Linked DNA regions of Homo sapiens: region 2 is linked to region 1. The links are contacts of gene promoters, found by promoter capture Hi-C in human tissues and cell types (Jung and others, 2019). All regions are on one chromosome and are shown on one strand. Each heading gives the region's core, a stretch centred on a gene start or on the middle of the fragment in contact. The rest is flanking DNA. Distances are from core to core; before and after follow the strand shown.

Evidence for each region. The method cuts DNA at HindIII sites, captures the fragments that hold promoters and counts their contacts. A contact is called where the count stands out against the background at its distance.
Region 2: a contact is called between a fragment that was not itself captured here and the fragment with the promoter of FSBP in region 1, in 1 of the 25 tissues and cell types used here (hippocampus).

The regions. Positions count from the first base shown.
Region 1 is chr8:94,432,357-94,440,205 of GRCh38, forward strand. It overlaps FSBP (fibrinogen silencer binding protein), which reads right to left and starts at 4,588. Exons shown (of 2, transcript NM_001256141.2): 1 at 4,139-4,588; 2 at 1-300. The coding sequence starts at 4,512. All of the region lies in intron 3 of RAD54B (RAD54 homolog B), which reads right to left. RefSeq lists an enhancer at 2,444-2,944. The HindIII fragment of the contact is 647 bases long and covers 4,293-4,939 here.
Region 2 is chr8:94,223,422-94,231,270 of GRCh38, forward strand. It overlaps LOC105375648 (a long non-coding RNA gene), which reads right to left and starts at 4,668. Exons shown (of 3, transcript XR_928424.4): 1 at 4,618-4,668; 2 at 3,301-3,385; 3 at 1,269-2,174. The HindIII fragment of the contact is 5,893 bases long and covers 1-5,756 here.

The sequences.
Region 1 (7,849 bases), core at 3,338-5,837:
AAGTGTTCACCACTCTCATGCCGAAAAAAATCATCTCTCCTTGGAATAGAAGATGGAGACGATGTCATTCTCATATCAACAGAGGAAAGTGAAGGCGACAAGGATCTTTCCATAACATGTACTAATTCATGTTCTTCTCTTTGCTCTAAAGTATCACTCTGTTGAGAATTTAAAACCAGTGGAGGAGGTGGTTTAATGTCTTCTTCTTGCTTCACCTCCACTGTAATAGCAACAGGATGGTGATCCAACATTACCTGTAGTGAACTGGTACCAGCCTGTGCCTCCTCATCCAAGTTTGCACTATAGCACACAAAAAAGCATTATAATATGTAAATCAAATGAAGAAAAAGTGTATATTTATAGCATAATTTTAATTTAATGTACATTAAATGATAAAGCTTTAAAACTATAAAGTTACAAAATAAAAAAAAATCTTAAACACTTGAAATACATTAAAGTGACTAAGATTGGGATTTCAATAATACATACTCACAGATCTCCCCCATCCTTAACTTTAAAATTGTGCTTTAAAGGAGCAGGAAATTACAAATATTATAGAAGGCCAATGAAGAAAATAAAAAGAAAAGCCAGTTTTCATGTTGTCAAACAGACACCAATCTTTCCCACAACCCTAAGGTTTTCAAATGGTGTACAGAGCCATTTAATGCATTCTCAGTCTTGTTATCCCCATACCTTAGCCCTAGACCTCAGGCTTCTGCTCTCCTGGACTGATCTTAAAACCATGAAGGCCCATAACTTATAAAAGGACAGTGAAAGGCCATCTATGGGAGGTACTGATTTCTGCATTTGCCCAAAAAATAAAACATAAAGATTGTATATGGCTTTGGGATATGCTCAACTACTGGAGGTTATCCTAACTTTCTTATTTCAGATGCTTTTATCTGATAGGAAAAACTTCCGTTTTACCTATTCTGAACCATATGACTCAGATGCTGTTTAAGTCTTTCAATCACTGGTCAGGTAAAGTTCACAAGAGCAATGGTTTTAATCCACAACTGTATACTCAGTACCTAGCAGGTACTGTACTTAGAACCTAGTAGGTGCTCATTATGTGTTGAATGACTGAAAAAAAACAAACTAAATGATTTTTTAATGAAACATTTTTAATGGCCTATACAGATATATTAAAGGTTTATTAAATTTACACATAATTTCCACCAAATATGCATTCCCAATGGAGACAACTACAGCTTTAGCATAATTTAAGCTTCAGCATAACAAGTTATGATATTATAAATGCAATAAACCTTAAAATTCTGTTTTATAAACATAATTTTATGTATAACGTGAAGCTGTGAATTAAGAATATCTGCTCCTTGAGGTTGTTTTTTTTAATTTATGCTTCTGCCTAACTTAAAAATAAAAGTTATAAAGGGAAATTAGATCATTGAACATGAATGGAAATACTTTATTTAATATTATTTAGAGAAGATTTTACATATAATAAGAAACATAATTAAAAGAATACATTCTACATGGATGATTAAAATGCTGGAACAAGTTCAAGCAGAATGCATAGAAAAAGATTAAAACTACCCATACGTTACTTACTAATGCCATTAAATTGCCAGAAATATCAGATATTTATCTAAGAGACAAAATGAAACATATATAGTATATAATAAAAAATCTATTTGTAGGTTATATAAATTCATTTTTGTTCTTGTCTCTGTTTGTGTCATTTTATTATTTCCAAAAACAAAACAATTAATTATAAATGTAATTCAAAGTAGCAAGCTCTGCTTCTATTAATAGCTCTGCTAAAACCTGGAATGGGAAAAGGCTAAAATTGCATATGAAAATTAAGTTTTTAAAACCACATAATTACTATTTCAAATTAGTATGTAAAATAGAGAGTATAAACATAGACATAATACTACCAAGTAAATTAAAAATATGCCTCATATCTGGAACATTCCTTTCCATTTTAGCTAAAACATTACAACTAAGGCATAACAATATAAAAAGGGAGAAAAAAAGCTTTAGAGCAGGTCACAAAAATGACAGAGAAGGACTTGAGAATCAGAACTTTGAAGATCAGTTTACAAAAACACAAAATATAAACTGATATTAGGAAGAGGTAAAAATAAAGACATAAGTCAATGTGAGTTACAGAAAATAAATAGCCTTACAAAACAGGTATATATTTTTAAGTATGTTAACGCAAACACTAGTATTTTCCTTATTAAAAAGGAAGAGTTTGGTAAGATTAACAGGCATATTTATGTAGAAGTATAGTTAAGATTATAGAATAATTATAAACTTCTGAGATTATTAAGATTCAAGGATGATATCAATCAAATAAATATAAGCACATTAAATATATATATTAAAGAAATAAGCTAATACAGAGAAAATGTCAATGTAGACACAGTAACATAAGAATTTAAAAGGCATGTTTCTTATATTCTTCCCTTTAAAACCTAACAAATTGGTATTATTTAAGCCATAGGTATAGAAATGTACAAATCAACTCATTTTTATCAGAGAAATGTTCATATCCCAAAAGATTTTTTGTGTGTGAATATTGTAAATATTCACACACACAAATAGTCAAAATGTAACCAGATACTTGTATATTTATATATTATTTTTCTTCTACTCACTGTTATTTTTAAAATATGCAACTAACTAAAATTACAGTTTCTACATGTCGTTTTCAAATTATAAAAACCTATACCTACTAACCAAAGGGTACAGTTTTATACCTGCGATGCAAAAAACACTTTTCTCCATGGTTCAAGGGAGAGAAAATTCTGCATAAGTAGCACAGTATAAAACAATTTTACTGCGTAGTTTTCTGGATATCTAGCTATTGGGATTTCATCATTTGTCATCACAGTGAACATTTTAACCAGTGGCCCCAAGAATTAATCCACTGTGTATTCATGTCCTGGATTCCCACTGGTGATATTTTTTTTACTGTGCTATCAAGTAGAAATAAGCAGTATCTGGTAAGAAGCTAGGCTCAAAAATACTTTCCTAGTAAATTACCAAAATAACATATGCACTTGGCTACAAAGTGGTTTTTTTCTGCTTCTCTCCTAATTTCAAAGGGATTTCATAGTAATCAATAATTTGCTTATATAATGCCTCTTCCACCAATAGAAAAGCACATTGTGTAAAGCTTTGTTTGAAAGGCTCCTCAAACTAACAAGGAGTTTACAATTTGTTTAAATTACCCTAAATGGTTCAGAATAAGAATGTAGCTGCCATTTTTATATTTTGCCAGAGGTTACAATCTGAATTAGTGGCAAGATAATACTTTTGAAAATTCCAAGGCAAATAGTTACATAGAAGACAAGTTTAACCAAAAAATTGCTTCTAACTCTAAAAAAACCCAGTTGCTCTTAGGGGTATTTTAAAATTCATAATTTGATATCCTTGCAAAGCAGTAAGAGAAAGCTTACTCTTTCCTATACGACCCAAGATCAAAGTGAAACTAGACTATTAAGGAATAAAAACAACAACAACAAAAAACTTTTAATTTTATTAAGTAAACTGAATCCCTAATTAGGCATTAACTCCCTTTAGTTGTGTTCATCTTTATTTTAAACGTGTTAGAAAAATAATTTAAACTGTCTTCATATACACAATCATGCCATTAACAAGTTTACTTATTGATTTTGTTTATATTTGTTAGTTAACATATATTCAATAAGTGTAGACAATGACAATTCATAAAAAAGCAAGGTTCCATTTCTCTAGAAACTGCTAACTTTATATAAATTTTATATAAAATTGAAAATTCCAGTGAAATGTAATCTTAAATGAGAAAAAAAGTATCTCTCAGAAGCAAACTAAATAATTTAATTTTAAAGCTTAAGAAGTTTATGAAGTGATGTCACAAATTTCAACCCACTTATTCCTCCCTAACCTTTACTTTTAGAAACTACAGGAGGGAAGGGGGAGGGGAAGACAGTAAAAAGTAGCTTAAATGCAACAGAAAAATTCCTCATAGCCTCACTTTTCTCTTTTTAAAAAATGCAAAACAAAGACACTATTCATTGCTCCCGTTGTGGGGATGCTTACTATGCATATCTCTATCACGACTAAGCCAAAGCCCAATAGATAGGAGGCGCCATAATTTTCCATAACAAAACAAAATAAAGCTTACCTTTGTATGTGGTTCCTGTCTCTTACCAGGCAAAAACTGGAAATCTGGGGAATCATCTCCATAACTTTCTTGGTTGGCTCAGAAATATTGCTTTTAAAATCTGATTGGGTCTCTTTTTGCTGCAATAGCTCCTGTTTGGCATATTCTTTGAGCCTTTTATAAAGGGTGCGTAGGCCCTGTGCTGTTCGAGGAGGGCGGTCTACTCCAATTGCATTATAGTTAACTGCTATGATATCCCAACATCTATTCTTTTCTACTATTACTGAATGTTTATTAGTGTGTTCTTCGAGAATTTTCACATATGGCTTCACAAGCTTTAGCAAATCAAGCTTTTCGGATAAGGTAAAATTGGAAGATCTAGCCTTTCCTACCATTGTTCTTTTCAAATTAAGTAGGCAGTTTCTGAAACCACCATGCAGCCTTCAGCTCTGCTCAGCTCTTTTCACAAACAGAAAAAGATCAGGCTTAACTAGGCTAGCCTCATTTAGGCCCACGCCTACAGGGGAGGGTTTATTAAAATTCCTCCAGCTTAAGCTGACGCAGGTTCAGGAAATCTGCTTAAGCCAAGCCTGACCTACATAAAGCTTCTCACTGAAGAAGACAGGAAGGCACAAGCAAAACACACTTGTGTATAAAGGGAACAGCTCGAGACAGGATTTAATACACAAAGGTCTAGAGATAAGCATGGAACACAGCTAAAAATTAGCTAATTTAGTGAGAATATCAAATTTCACACATGTATGCCTAGCTGACAGACTGAACTGCATTGCAGTATCACTTTAATAAAAACAAAAGAGGAACTGTTTTGTGCTATTTATTTACAAATCCAGTAGACAGAAAACTAAAAGATATGAGTAGTGAATGTAGTAATTCCTAACAGAGCCTCTCATCACTGTTTCTGAGCTGAGTGTTCTCCCTTACAAAATCTGCATAATGCTGGATCTGCTGTCAATCAGGAATTGCATATCCTCTAGCTAGTTAGGTTACACCCAGACCCAGACTCCACAGTAAAGCTAAGCTTCTCCTTCATTTTACAGTCTACATTAGCCTCTGCATATTTTTTTCACTTAAGAAAAAATTTTTATAGAACACTCAATCTAAAAAGCAGGTAAAAATCATGTTTTTAAAGCAATGGATTATTCTAGCCGTAATGTATGTGAATTTGCTAGCCTGCCTTATCATGTGTAAAAAATCACTGTTCATGGTGAGAAACAGTATAATCACGCCTTAAGACTCCACATACAAAATCACATTTGCTATTATAATAGAGCCAGATTTTTTATTTAGCTATATTCACACAGTTTGGACTATGAAAGGAAACAGCTAGTCTAGCCATTTTCAAGGCCACCAGTTTCGGTGCTTAGAATATATTTGTTAACCCCAGTATGAAAATATATGATACATAATAATGTAAGCAAGACAAACCTATTTTCTCACAATATACATATTTTTCCAGATAGGGGAATAAATTAGAACATACTTGAACATAGTTCTATCCAATAAAACTATTACTGAACAACTGTGATAGTTATTAAGAGGTAGGAAAAATAAATTGTTTTTAATTACTGACCACGTATATAAATGCTCCCAGGCACTGTGCAAGACCCAATGAAATCAAAAATGAATCTAGATACAGCACCTATCCAGGGAACTGTAGTTCCACAGAAATGCTATAAATTCTCAATTATCTTGTTTTTCATTCTTTTAACAATGGAGAAGCAAATTACATTTACTGAGCTCTCACTGTGAGCCAATGTGTTAAAAGCTTTAAGTGTATTATCTTTCAGAAAACAGTGAAAGATTGCTGGATGTTCTACGGAATGCTAGATGTTGTCTGGTATACGCTACTGAGTAATTTGATTCCATAATAGTTCTACCCTTTCATTGTCTTTGAGCAGTTTCACAGCTCTGTAAATTGTAGAAATCAGTAATGCAAATGATTCTTGTCCATAGAGATGCAAAAAGAAAATCGACCTGCCCCAACAACAACTGGACCACAGGTACTCAAAATCATTCTAGCATTTTCTGAGCTTTTGGAACATTAAAAGAGAACCAAAGAAAGAACATAGGGTATATACTTTATTTAGATAATTATTTTGTTATTTTCAGAAGAAATACAGGTATTACAGAACACAGGGTATATACTTTAGATAATTATTTTGTTATTTTCAGAAGAAATACAGGTATTATGTTAAGAATGAAACACTACTAAAATATGAAAAAATGTTCAATCTCACTAGTTATCAGGGAAATGTATACTAAAAATGATTTTCATTCCTAGATTAGCAAAATTTTTTAAGACTTAAAATGCCAAGAGTGAGGCCAGGCTCAGTGGCACATGGGCCTGTAATCCAACAGTTTTGAGAGGCCAAGGATTACTTGAGCACATGAGTTCAAGACCAGACCGGGCAACATGGAGAAACCCCATGTCTACAAAAAATACAAAAATTAGCCAGGTGTGGTGGCATATGCCTGTAGTTCCAGCTATTCGGGAACCTGAGGTGGAAGGATCACTTGAGCTCAAGAGGTTGAGGCTGCACTAAGCCATAATCATGCCACTGCACTCCAGCCTCGGTGACAGAGCGAGACCCTGCCTCAAAAAAAGAAAAAAAAGAAGACTCCAAGAGTGGAAAAGGATAGAAGGGAAAGAGTACTCTTCTGTACCACTGAAGGGAGTGTAAAATGACATTTTGGATGGTGATCTGGAAGTATCTACTAATATTTTACATGAGTAGGAAATCTTCTAAAATTGTGGTAATTTTATGTCTCAGAATATACCTTAGAAAAATAAAATGCACACGGGAGCAACGAAGCATTCTTTGCAGTTGCATACAGTGGAAGCAATCTAAAAGCACATCAGTTGGAGTTAAAAGCATACAATACATCCATATCATGGTCTACTCCAGGCAGCATTAAAATGAAAGACGCAGATCATAGTGTGTTTGAATATATCACGCTGTTAACGAAAAGAGTCAAACTCTGTATAAAATATTTTTAGAGATTGATTCTGAGCCAAATATGAGTGACCATGGCCAAAGACACAGCCCTCAGGTGGCCCTAAGAACATGTGCCAAGGTGGGTGGCGTATGGCTTACTTTTATATATTTTAGGGAGGCATGAGACATCAACCAAATATATTTAAGAAATACATTGGTTTAGTTCAGAAAAGCGGGACAACTCAAGGCGGGGGCGGGGTGGCGGCGGGGGCGGTGTTCCAGGCTATAAACGTTTTCTGGTTTACAATTGGTTGAGTTTATCTGAAGACCTGGGATCAATAGAAAGGAAATGTATGTTCAGGTAAAGATAAAGGATTGTAGGCACCAAGTTTTATTGTGCAGAGGAAGCTCTCAGATAGCAGACTTCAGAGAGAACAGGTTGTATATTGTTTATTATCAGACCTAAAAGAGTGCCTGGCTCTTACTTGATTATCTCCTGGATCTAGAAAGGAAGGAAGGAAAACAAGGGGAAAGTGGATTCTCTATAGAATGTGGATTTTTCCCACAAGGGATGGCTTTGCACGACCATTTCAAGATATGGCAGAGAAACATGTTTTGGGGTAAAATATTTTTATTTTCTTCCATGTTATGCCAGAGTCAGATCGGAAAGTAAGTCATGATATACAGGGTTAAATAAAACCATCTGATGAGAATGTATGGTTTACAGAGCATGATTCCCCAGACCCCTTAGATAGGAATTTAGGCAAGATTAAAA
Region 2 (7,849 bases), core at 1,560-4,059, 210 kb before region 1:
AATTGGGTGAATGGTGATTTTTATAAAATAACAAAGTAATTTACCTCCTTAAGGATAAAAATGAACATGTTCTCACTGGAAAGCTGCCCAAGAAGAGACTACTCAACCATAGTACCATGTGCTGAATTTTCTTTATTTCACATTCTTGATCTGGCCTTACAGAAAATTTGAGTGAACATTTCTGAATTAGAAGGAAAAATTTGGAAGTCGAAGTACTAAAATGAGTATTGAAGCATGAGAACTGTTCTACCTTGTCAGCATCTGAATAGTGTAAAATCGCTCCTCTGAGCTGGGATTCACGTCCAGGTGGGTGCAAAGTGAAACAGAAATAGCACATGCAGGCACAAAGCCAGTGGCCTGGGAGTGAGGGGGGATGGAGGGAAAATGGGAAGATTGTCCACTTGAGACTAAGCCTCCAGAATCTGCAGGAATTTTGGGGATCATTGCAGCATAATTTAAAGTTCTAGAGAGTTTTGTCTGAATCTCCATTGGTCAGGGAAATCTGAGCTGATGACAAGGTTACAAACAATTATACCACATGCCATTTGTAAATTATCATTCCAGACGATGTACTAAGCAGTTTACATTAATTGCCTCGTTGAACCTTTATAACTCTCTTGCCCCAACAACCATGACACAGATATTATCATCACATTTTGACAGAAAAGAAGAAGGTCCAGGGAAATTGAGTAACTTATTCAAGGTCACACAGCTGGTGAGTGATGTAGCTTGTCCTCTAACGTAGGGCAGCCTGCCTGCAAAACTCTTTCCCCACTGTCTGCGTTTCACTTGCCATGGAGCAGCACTTTATGGACACCAGTGGTTGGTGTCGCTGCAGGGGTCATACACAGAGCATTTCCTGGGTCAAAATTCTAATCCTTGCAAGAAAGACAATAGCATATTCAGGAAATCCAGTGAGTTCTGAAGACAGATCATGCCACAGTCATTTATCTAGGCAGCAAATGTAAAAGTGTTCAGAGAGCCTGGCAGGTGCTGGTGAAAAACAAAAAAAAAAGAATGTGTATTTCCCAGCTCCTTTTTCCCATTATCTTATATCACTTTTAAATAGCTCATGAAGGATATTTTAGACAAATTCAGCCCCTTTTCCCCTGTGGCAAGTAATGCAATAAAAGCTAATTGATTTAGCATCCTATTGATTAGAAAGCAGGGATACAATACAATGAGAACTGATGACCACAAACATGACTCAAACGCGGCCAGATATCCTAAAGAAGTTTATGACTCATCATCAAAACACAATTATATTCCAAAGAGGCCAAGCATTAAATGTATTTTATTGAGTTAAGTTTATCTGACACTGTTCAGCCACAAATGGTCATGTGAAATCCATAGAACCAGAATACCTGATTAGCCAGAATAACACATTCTCAGACCACGCTGGCTTTTCTACCATTGGATCTAGACAAACATGACCCTCTGCAGCATACATATTTACTGCATCACTTGAAGATTGTGGAGAAGATAGACTTAGAGCTGAACTGGAAAGTATATGACAGAAAAATGTCTGGAGACAGTTATTTCATAATATATCATTTCTAAGAAGAAATTAAGCACTATAATTTGCGAGCCTGCAGTGATGCCTCAATGCATTGAGTAAGGTCTCTGGCATCAATTATGTTTAAGTAATAACATATGTAAAGGGCCTGTGTCTGCCCAAACTGTCAAGGGCTCCTAAGTGGCATCTATTGTTATTATTATCATATTATAATTATTAAATCATGATGCTTATCTTATAGGTACTTATAATAGAACTAGGTTGGTAGAAACTGGCTTGTGTTGTCTTTTATCTTCAAAAGTGGAATAGGTGTGTGTCTTTGGTCTTACTTTGAGTTAAGATTCACTTAAACGTAGTGCAATCTAATAATCACCAAACGATTCCTTCATTTTCTGCTTTTAATTTATCTCAAACAAGCAAATAAATGAAAAGCAGGCATGAGACAAAAAGGCTATTCCACAAAATCTCTGCGGAAAAAGGGCTGTGAGCCCAGTTGTTGAGTGAAGTTCCTCAGTCCAGAGAAGGCAGCAGAGAATGCCAATGTTGGCGGGGTGCAGTGGCTCACGCCTGTCATTCCAGCTTGGGAGGCCAAGGCGGGCAAATTGCTTTGAGCTCAGGAGTTCGAGACCAGTTTGGGCAACATGGCAAAACTGCATCTCTACAAAAAAATACAAAAATTAGCAGGGTGTGGCCACCATGTGCCTGTAGTCCTAGCTACTCAGGAGGCTGAGATTGGAGAATCGTTTGAGCCTGGGAAGCAGAGTCAAGATCGTGCCACTGCATGCCGGCGTGGGTGACAGAGTGAGACCCTGTCTCAGGGAAAAAAAGAGAGAAAGAGAGAATGCCAATGTTCTCATTGTCTCTCGTATCTCTCTGAGTCAGTGCTCTCCAGAGAAACAGAGCCAATAGGATATGTATCTCTACACAGAAAGATTTCTTTTAAGAAATTGGCCCATGCAATTACAGGCTAGCAAATCTAAAATCCGCAGGGTGGGCTGGTTGGCTGAAGACCCAGGAAAAGCCAGCGTTTTGGCTGGAGTCCGAAGGCCAGCTGTCTGCTGCAGAATTCCATCTTGTTGGAGGAAGTCAGTCTTTTGTTCTTTTCAGGCCTTTGACAGATCAGATGAGGCCCACCGGTACTAGGGAGGGCAACCTGCTTTACTCACGGTGCACAGATTAAAATGGTAATTTCATCCAAAACACCCTCACAGAAATATCCAGAATTGTGTTTGACTGCATACCTGGACACCATGGCCCAGCCAAGTTGATACAGAAAATTAACCATCATAATCTCTAATCTCTCCCTCCTTCCCTCTGTCTCTGTCTCCATCTCTCTCTCTCTCTCTCTCTCTCTCTCACACACACACACACACACACACACACACACGAGCAAAGTTTATCACAAAGTAAGGAAGAAATGCAGGGTGCAGTGGCTCACGCCTGTAACCCCAGCACTGTAGGAGGCCAAGGTGGGCGGATCACCTAAGGTCAGGAGTTCGAGACCAACCTGGCCAACATGGCAAAACCCCATCTCTACTAAAAATACAAAAATTAGCCAGGCATGGTGGCACACGCCTGTAGTCTCAGCTACTCAGGAGCTGAGGCAGGAGAATCTCTTGAACCCGGGAGGCGGAGGTTGCAGTGAGCCGAGATCGCGCCATTGCACTCCAGCCTGGGCAACAGTGTGAGACTCCATCTCAAAAAACAAACAAAGTGAGGAAGGAAGCATCAAGGTGTGATGCCAACCACCAGGGCTATCTTGAGACCCTCGGAGAAGTCCATACCTGAGGAGAGGAGCACTGAGCATTATTGCATCAATTCCAAGTAGGACTTCATCTCTTCTTTCATGAGAAAAATAATTCATCGATTCTGAAAAACAGCATTCATTATCTACCTACGATGCCATTTTTAAAACGTCTCAGGTAAATATTGTTCTATCCCCATCTCACAGATAAAGAAACTCTTTTCAATTAAGTGACTTGCCCCAGCATCCATTGCTAAAAGATGGAAGAATCTAAATTTCAACACAAGTCCTCAAATGTCTCTTGTGATTTCTCTCCATGCTGCCCCACAGGTAAGGAAAACAAGAATGTCAGCAAATGTCTGTAACAGAAGAAACCTGCGATGTTGAGCGTGGAGTAGTACACTTTGTTCCAGGATTCCATCTCTGGTTAGGGGATGTGTGGGAAGGAGCACTCACAGACAGATATGCATCCAAGCCCATGGCCTGCAAACCAGAACCTCTCCTGCTAAAGAGATTTGTAGATGCTTATGGGAGCAAGAATTGCCCAACCTACCACACTCTCTAGGCAAATGTCATCTGTTGGAGATTCCGACTGAGGTCCTGGAAGGGCTCCCACATGGGCCATCTGCCAGGCCTCTGATGTCGGCCAACTGCCAAGCTTAGGCTAACGGTTGCTTGTAGTTGGTGGCAGAGCTATTCCAAAGAACTACTGAGATGCAGGCAACTGATGACAGGGCTGCTCTTTTGTCTCTCTAGCTGGCCCCGCACAGTACCCTAAGCGACCCACTCCAGGGCTCCCCTTGGGAAACCATGTCCGTGGATCATGCTTAGCACTGCCCTTGTTCTAGCCGTGCGTGGTGGCGCGTGACCGTAATTCCAGCTACTCAGGAGGCTGAGGCAGGAGAATTGCTTGAACCCGGGAGGCGGAGGTTGCAGTGAGCTGAGATTGCACCACTGCACTCCAGCCTGGGTGACAGAGCAAGACTACATCTCAAAAAAAAAAAGGATAAAAAAGAACTGCCCTTGTTCATGGCTGGATGTTCAGAGGGTGGAAAAATGGAAAAGGTGGTTGTTATAGAAGCACTTGAGCTGTGTGCTTTTAAAGTTTGGGTTGGGATTAGTTCTGGGAACGTGGTCTACCTTCTTTCTTCCTCCTGTGCCCTCTTTCGACCCACCCCACAACTTTGTATATCAAATGGCAAAAAGAATCCTATTCCTGCCTTAGTTCATTATCTGACCTTCAGTAGGACCAGAGGCCTGGGAAATGGGGGCGAGGCCGAGTGTGTGGTAGAACCACAGGCATTCTAGATGCAGACATGAGTGAGAATCACACCCCAGTCCATGGCATGTCACCCACCTGGTACTTCAGAGGAAGCTAGTTCTGCCACGGCCACCTCCTAGTGAAAGCGACACAGGAGGGCCTGCCTTCCCCTCTGCAGTGCCTCTCGCTGCAAACACTTGACCAGTGCACATTTGCCAAAGTTCTGAATGTCAGAGCCAAGCTGAAAACCAGTGCAAGATCAGTCCATCTAAGTCAAGGCAGCTATGTGCATGTCCTAAATTATAGTTGCAGAGGGGTAATCCCAGGCTGTTTAGTACAAAGATAATGATCAGAAACTAGGAAAATGGTTGCTTTAATTCAAAAACCACATTGCTAGCAATAAGGTGATAACCATGACAAGATTCCTGTACAGAGGGTCCTGCACCAGGAAAAAGATAACATTAACTCATTCCGATCTGAAAGCATTAGCCATGATGTACTTACTATTATTACTATTTTCTAGTGAGGAAACTCTGACCTAAGGAGCATAAGTAAACTTCCACAAAGTAACTCAGCTAGTGAATTGGTACCACCAGGATTTGAAGCCAGGAAGTCTGATTCCCAAGTCTAAAAACGTAACCACTCTATTATATGGCATTCTGATTGTATAATGTTTTTGTGCTTATGAGGCATTGTCAGGCCTGCTGTCTGTTGAGATTTATCATTTTTTTAATTCCTCCATCTTATTTTGCGTAATAGTATCACATCCATTGGTTTATAATAAAGACTATAATAAAATTGTATGTCTTCTGGCCAGGCATAGTGGCTCACGCCTGTAATCGCAGCGCTTTGGGAGGCTGAGGTAGGAGAATTGCTTGAAGCAAGGAGTTCAAGTCCAGCCTGGGCAACAAGGCGAGACCCGTCTCTACTAAAAATTTAAAAAAAAAAAAATAGCTGGGCACAGTGGTGTGCACCTGTAGTCCAGCCTGGGCAACAAAGCAAGACCCCATCTCTACTAAAAATTTTTTTTAAAAGCTGGGCACGGTGGTGCACGCCTGTAGTCCCAGCTACTTGGGAGGCTGAGGTGGGAAGATTGCTGGAGCCCAGGAGTTTGAGGCTGCAGTAAGCTAGGATTGTGCCACTGTACTCCAGCCTGGGCAACAGAGAAAGACCCCATTTATTTAAAAAAAAATGAATGTTTTCCAAATATTTTTATAATTTAAATATTTTCCCACTAAATAAGATCTTATCTGTGCCATTTCTCTATAATTTTCCACATACATGGCTTTTACTGGGCCGAGGAGGCTACTGAAAATATGAGATCACATACTCACAAGGGATGTGGGTACTCCTTCCCTGACACCGTGTTGCTTCTTTTAGGTCACATTAAGGTTTAGTTTCTTTCAAGACTGTTACTATTTTATCAGAAATTAAGACCTTAAATTAAGTACTAATTCATTTTCACATCTCAGTGAATGAGATGAAAGGAAACTGAAGTGAGATTTGGGTTTTCTGGTTTTCACTTTTGGGGAGAGATTTTTTTTTAACATGGGGTCTTCCTGAAGTCATACCATGGAGGTAATCTCATTCAGGGTCTGTAGGTAGGTGAGCAATCTGTTTCAAGATGAAAAGAAATTGTATAGGGTTTTAAAAGATGTCATTCCAATGCCTTAAACAGTCCTCACAGTGTTATAGGCAATACTGTGACCTGACTCTTCACATGGTTGCTGTGACATCATAACTTTTTTTTTTTTTGAGATGAAGTCTCACTCTTGTCCCCCAGGCTGGAGTGCAACGGCACAATCTCAGCTCACTGAAACCTCCGCCTCCTGGGTTCAGGAGATTCTCCTGCCTCAGCCTCCCGAGTAGCTGGGATTACAGGCACCTGCCACCACGCCAGAACAATTTTTGTATTTTTAGTAGAGACAGGATTTCACCATGTTGGCCAGGCTGGTCTCGAACTCCTGACCTCAGGTGAACCACCTGCCTCAGCCTCCCAAAGTGCTCGGATTACAGGCATGAGCCACTGCGCCCGGCCTGTCATAACATCTTTAAGCCTCAGTTTTCTCAACTACAAAATGGAGCCAGTAATATCTACTTCTTGAGTTTAGTAAGATGTTACTAAAATACTAAAGACGGCCAGGCAAGGTGGCTCATGCCTGTAATACCAGCACACTGGGAGGCCAAGTCAGGTAGATCACTTGAGTCCAGGAGTTCAAGACCAGCCTGGGCAACATGGTCAAACTCCATCTCTATAAAAAATACAAAAAAATGTAAGACAGGCGTGGTGGCATGCACCTGCAGTCCTGGCTACTTGGGAGGCTGAGGTGGGAGGATCACCTGAGCCCAGGAGGCTGAGGCTGCAGTGAGCCATGATCACACCATTGCACTCCAGCGTGGGTGCCAGAGTGAGACCTTATCACAAACAAAAAAGACCTAACACAACTCCTGACACAGGATGCAAAGAATAACAGCTGCAATTTCCACGATTTCCCTAGTCAGAGCTCTACCAATCACCAGCTGCCTGACTTCGAATGTGCTTAACTCTTCTAGATTCGGTTTCCTTGTATGTGTATTTAAATGTCAAAGGGTCCTGCTGACTCAGACTCCCTGTAATTCCAAGATGTCCTCTGTCCCCCTGCCCCTACCCAGTGTGCTGCTGGCTTCCCCCACGGGCTGGCACTCAGACCTGGCCTAGGCTCCTGTTAGCAGATTTTCACATCTTTGCCCACATCTACTATTTCCAAGACATCTGCACTGAGCTAAGTATGCCCGTCACACACTACTCAAGCACTTGCACAAGTGTGAGGCACACAAAACGAATGTTGGGCTGAAGAAAACTCAACTTGGAAAAGAAAGGGGAGACACAAGTTTGCCACAGAATTTTCTTAATGTTCTTAATAATCTACAGTTGGCAGAGCTAAGGGTTCCCCCAAGCAGTGGAAGTGTCTCTTTTGCATTCTTCCAACACTAGCATGCCCCAGCCCAGAATAAAGGCAGCACCACCTCTCTACCCATTGTCATCACATTTGCTTGGAAACTGGACCAAAGAGTAAAGCAAACTGAGGATAAGCTTAGTAAACCATGGGATGCTGAATGAATAAAACAGGAATGACACGCTATCCACTGCTTACGGAACACTTACTGTGCATCTCAGTATAACCATGTAGACATTTCACCCTCACAACAATCCTATGATGTAGGTAGCTATTTATGAAGAAGGAATTTTAATTATCCTCATTTTCAGATGAGGGAACTGAGGCAGAGAGAGGGGAGGTGACCCATCTTCAGAATCCTTCTTCACCACAACATTATACTGCCTATGATA